2 separate regions of the Homo sapiens genome follow, and region 1 is linked to region 2. Evidence: promoter capture Hi-C in human tissues and cell types (Jung and others, 2019). All regions are on one chromosome and are shown on one strand. Each heading gives the region's core, a stretch centred on a gene start or on the middle of the fragment in contact. The rest is flanking DNA. Distances are from core to core; before and after follow the strand shown. Region 1 overlaps LINC02210-CRHR1 (LINC02210-CRHR1 readthrough). Region 2 holds the start of DBF4B (DBF4B-CDC7 kinase regulatory subunit).

Region 1 (2,788 bases), core at 207-2,706, 1.1 Mb before region 2:
CTGAAGAGGTGGTATTGGGAGGCCTCAGGAGGTGGCTGCCTACTCAAAAAGCCTTACTTGCTTTAAAACAGCTCAGGCCGGCTCCCGTCCCCCACAGAAGACCCCCACTCCCTACCCTGCGGGCAATTCCTTGACAGTCACATTAGTGAAGGCTGGGTTAACCCTTGATGCTCTGCCCTCCAGCACCAGGGCAGGACCTGGACACCAGGGTCATTCCCTCCCTGGCACCTATGGAGACTGGATGCTGAGGAGGGAAAGGTGAAGCCACAGCCAACTATTTTTAGTTCAAGAATTGGTTGCCAGGAACACTGAGCCGACTCCCTGCTGTATATTAGGGATGCGACAGCAGCGGTGTTGTTTGCAGGGTCTAATTGTGGGGATTTATTGTAACATGCAACTTGTCAGCCACTGCTCTGCCTAGGGCCCAGTCTCCTTGTCATCGGAATCTGAGCTATTTCCCAACTCCCTGGGTGCAGGGGAAGGAAATGGGGCAGAGAAGGAGCAGGAGTGTGCCCAGGGACCCTGGACAGCTCACAGCTGACCTTGCACCAAGAGTCGCTCTGCCCAGGAGGGGGCAGAGAGGAGAAAAGTGATGAGACTGGATTGGAAGCAAAGAGAGAGGGCCTGGGGCTGCCCATTGTTGGGCCCACAGGACTCAACCTTGACTTTCCTTGGGGCTTCAGATCTGGAAGAGGCTCAGTGGGAACAAGCTGAGAGCTTTTTCTCTTGTGCATGACAGTAGCATAGGAGGGCACCGGCCTGGGTAACAGCGGAGAGTTTTCAGTTAGATGGAAGGAGGACCTCCTTGACTTGAGGGTGGTCCTCCTTCCACCCTCAAGTCAAGGGTGGCAAGGAGGGGACAGTGTCTGGTCTCAGCAGTGGCAGTGGTCATCCTTCTGCCAAGGGAGGGGGAGAGATATGCAGACACCTAGCAAAGCCTACTATGTGCTGGGCACACTGTGCAGCACCCCGATGCAACCTTATTTAATCCTTTGCAAAGGGGGCCTCTGTCTCCATTGCGTAGATGAGGAAACTGAGGCTCGGGTAGATATTCACCTAAGGTCTCATAGCAGTAAGGAGGCTACAGCTGGGATTTTTACCCGAAAGTGTCCAACTTCAGAGCTCTGCTCACCAACCATTATTGACTAGGACCCCAGGAACTGGAAGGAGGGGTCATCTTTCCCCTTGTTCCTGCATGCCTGGAATTCTGGGACAAAAAGACATTCAGCCAGCCAGCCAACAAACGCGCCAGGTACTGCGCCAGGCCCCTGGAATATAGGTACCCACCCAGGAAGAGCTGATGTGAAAAGGTCATTTCTTCCAGCCTCCTGCCTCATCTCCTCCTCTCCAAAAACCGTGGTCTGCATTTCAAATCACTCGAGAAAGGAAGGGCTGCAACTGTCCTTCTTCCCTTAAATAGTCAGGACTATTTAAGAAGCTTCTGATGTCTCAGGTAGGGGATAGGGGAAGGACGGCTTGGACTCTCAGCATCTTGGGGGAAGGCTGGACTCAGGCCTACTTTAATTATTTAGAAACCCTGGAGTAATGATGCAGAACCACCTTATGGGAGTGGTAAATGAGAAAGAGAAGGTTGAAAGCTGCCAGCCATGGGTTCAACTTTCCCGAGACAAGCTAAAATTGGACTGATCATTATAGCAGGCACCCAGGTATATGATTATTCTTCATAATTTTTTTTAGTTGCATAGACTACATTTTAAATAGATAATGCAAACTTGCACATGATGCAAAAATCAAAAGGTGCATAGGAAATATCCTGAAAATCTCCCTCCCTTCCCCACTCCCAGCCACCTAATTCCTCTCTCCACAGGCTCCAAGGTTATCAGTTTCTTGGTAGATTTGCAGAGATCGTCGATCCAATAAGTAAGCAATTACGGCTATATATTCTTTTTGTTTTATACAAACGTGCTCTTCTATACCTTGCTTTTTTTCCCACTTAGCAATTTATCTTGGAGATTGTTCCAAATCAGTCCATAAAGAGTAGCCCCCTCCATTCCTTTTTAATGATTGCATAATATTCTGCCAGTTGAATGAACCCTGATCTGCCGAACTCATCCCCAGCGATGGGCATTTAGGTGTTTTCAATCTTTGGCTCTTAAAAGTAGTGCTGCCATAAATAACCTCATTCATAGATCATATGGCATATGAAAGGTTATATTTATGGCATAAATTCCCAGAAGTGGAGCTGCTGGCCCGTGAACACGTACATTTATAATTTTGATACTTATTGCTGAATCTTTCTCCAAATAGATTGCACCAATTTATACTGTCTTGAGTTTCCCCAGAAGCAGGACCTGTGAAAAAGATTCAAGGGCAGGTTGTTTATTTGGGAGGTAATCCCAGGAGGTCCCAGTAGGGAGGTGGGGAAGGCGGGCAGGGGAGGGAGGAAAGCCTGATGACTGGACCTTAATCCCATTGAGGAGCTCAGGGAGGCATGTGGGACCCCCAGCTCAGAGTCATCCCAGTGGAGGGCACGAGGGTAGGGCACTGGTGACATCTGCCATCCCCTCCTCTAGAAACATAGGGATCCCTGTTGCCCCACACCTTCACATTGGGAAAATCTGATCATCCTTCCCCCCACACCCCTCCCTGGGCCCCATCTCACCCCAGTGCATGGACAGCCTGTGAAGGGGGCTGCCCACCCCACAGCCCCGCCCCAGGCTGGCACCGATCACTCTGCCCCTGCAGGGTCCCTCCTAGCTGCTAAGCCCTGGGGAAGGTAGAGAGGCACATCTAGGGTCACAAGACCCTAAACGCCCTAAAAGGAAAC
Region 2 (2,700 bases), core at 183-2,682:
GGTTCAATCAATTTTCCTGCCTCAGCCTCCTGAGTAGCTGGGACTACAGGCACGCCTCACCACGCCCGCCTAATTTTTTGTATTTTTAGTAGAGATGGGGTTTCACTGTGTTAGCCAGGATGGTCTCAATCTCCTGACCTCGTGATCCGCCCGCCTTGGCCTCCCAAAGTGCTGGGATTACAGGCGTGAGCAGCCGCGCCCGGCCAACTAGATGATATTAACTAAAGGGGCAGTACGGAGGGAAGTGCCATGTGCTAAAATACTTACCTAATTAGGTAGCAGTGTTTAACTTAAGGATTTTATTGTAAACAACTATGAATGTATTAATTTATATATTTAATAAGTCACTCTATCCTGACTCCACATCTGTCTGTTAATCTTGTTCATAATATGACTCTTACTTGACCTTTATCATGAATCCCAAAACGGTCTATGATGCTGCGTCCATACACACACACACATAAAACCACTAAGTGGGCCTGGTGAAGTGGCTCACACCTGTAATCCCAGCATTTTGGGAGGCCTAGGCAGGAGAACTGCTTGAGGCCAGGAGTTTGAGACCAGCTTGGCCAACACAGCAAGACCCCATCCCAATAAATAAAATGAATAAATAAGTACATAAAAACACTGAGTGATCGAAAACTCCAACAGGGGGAACATTTTTCGGTCTTCTCCAAGAGACCCTGGGGCAATTTTCACCTCACGTCCCTAGTTCTGTCCTGTTACCCACCTAGGTCCGGGGCCCGGAGCCTACTCTCAGCCATGGAACTCTCCAGCTCGAGGCAATCGTCTCCTGAGAAAGGACATAACAGCAACTCAACCATCTTCACCAACCCTTGGAACTTCCATGCCTCCCGCCCACTACTGTCTCCCAAAACGCGCACAGAAACGCGACTCCTGGGAACAGCAAGACTCAACTCCATTCCGACCTACATCCCGCGACTCCCGCCAGGCTCTTGCCCCTCATGCCCTCCGCCTCCTTTCAGACTCCGTTCAGTCAACGGCCGTGACCTCTTGGCCACCTCCTGTCCATCTCAATCTCCATACATCCCTCCAGGCTGTTGTCCCCTACGTTCCTCTGCCACCTTCATTCCTCGGTCCCCTCAACTCCTGTGGCTCCTTCCCGGCCCCTATACCCTCCTCAGCTTCGGCACCTACCCGCTGGTCACTTCCTAAGCCCCCTCCACGACTCCGCACCTCGCCTCAGCTATTAACGACCCCTTCCGCCTTTCTTTCTCCCCTTCCCGGCATCCGTACCCTTTCCCGGTTCGCTCATCAAATGCCGGCTCCTTCTCGGCCTCCGTACTCCTTCCTCAGAGGCCTCCGTATTACATTCGCGAGCTCCATGAGCTCTTCCCGATTCCACAGTCCTGGTTATCTCAGGGCAGCTACAGCATCAATCTCTTGGCGTTTTCGGCCGCGGCTTCAGTTTAAATTTCCTGCCGGCTCCACCCCTAAAAGAACGCCGTAGCTGCGAGATCCGCCCTACGGTGTCCTTGGAAGGACAATATTAGTTTCGCGATTCCTCTTTCCGTTCCCCCACCGCCTACGTCTTCTCAAACCGTCTCTTCATTTCTTGGCTCTTCACTGGCTAGACGGCTTTGCCCCTTAATGGCCCTCAAGTTGAGGACTAGTGGTCGCTTTTTAGTGATTCTTCACACTGAGCTGCATTGAAATTCCTAGAAGTTTGAATACTAAATAACAAAATAAGCCTAACACTTGCAGAGCATTTGCAGTTTACATAAAGATTTCACTTACACATCATTTCATCTTCACATTTTTGTCCCCCTCCCGTTCTTCAATTATTACCTGCCCAACAAAACTTCTCAAAAGACGTATCTTTATCCCTCACTTCCCATCTTTTCTTCAACCCATCTAATTAGACTGCTAATTAGAGATCAAATTTGATCTAATAAGAGATCATTCAGTGGAGAGCTGGGGACCTCCCCACAAAAACTGTACTTATCCAGGTCAACTGTGATTTCCACAGTCTGAAATACTATCCTTATCATATCCAACTTATAGATGGACTATTCCTTCTTTGAAATACTTTCTTCTTTTTGCTTCCATGACTCAGCACTCTACCGTTTTTTTCCCTATCTCAATGGTTCCTCCTCAGTCCCCTTTGCTGGATCCAAAGCCACTGTTCACCTATATATTTTGGAGTATGCCAACGCTTTAGCCCTTATCCCTCTCCCTTATCTCCCTAGGAGATCTCATCCAGCTCCACAGCTTTACAATTCAGCTCTGCCACACCTTCAGATTTTCTGTAGCTCTGACCTGTCTGATCTCCAGACTCACATATTCAAGTGCCTACTGGCTATTTCAATTTGGATGTCTAATAGGCACCTCAGGCTGAACACATTCAAAACAGAACATTTGTTTCGCTGCCCCTGTCAAAAAACCACCTGTTCTCCCCCCAGGTCTTCCCCTCTCAGTAAAATGTTACTGTTTACTCAAATGTCACAATCATTCACCCAGTTGCTCAAACCAAAAACCTAGAAGTTGTCTTTCAGTACTTTCCCTTGTGCCCATCCCCACTCCAAGAAAAAAATCCTACTAACTCTGCCTCCAAAGTACATCTGGAATCAGACCACCACCACCCTAGTTCAAGCTGCTATCATTTCTTGCCTAAAGTACTGCGGTCAATTCTTCACTTCTACTCCCGAGTAGCTTCCTATCTCTCCCCAGTATAATCCA

The links. The method cuts DNA at HindIII sites, captures the fragments that hold promoters and counts their contacts. A contact is called where the count stands out against the background at its distance.
Region 1: a contact is called between a fragment that was not itself captured here and the fragment with the promoter of DBF4B in region 2, in 1 of the 25 tissues and cell types used here (spleen).

Annotation. Positions count from the first base shown.
Region 1 is chr17:45,765,929-45,768,716 of GRCh38, reverse strand. The region is part of intron 3 of LINC02210-CRHR1 (LINC02210-CRHR1 readthrough); the gene reads right to left. Among named protein-coding and RNA genes, the nearest start is that of CRHR1, 17 kb to the left of the region's middle. The HindIII fragment of the contact is 6,380 bases long and covers 1-2,788 here.
Region 2 is chr17:44,707,397-44,710,096 of GRCh38, reverse strand. DBF4B (DBF4B-CDC7 kinase regulatory subunit) reads right to left here and starts at 1,432. Exons shown (of 14, transcript NM_145663.3): 1 at 1,258-1,432; 2 at 731-793. The coding sequence starts at 1,276. RefSeq lists enhancers at 598-1,111, 1,112-1,626. The HindIII fragment of the contact is 13,873 bases long and covers 1-2,700 here.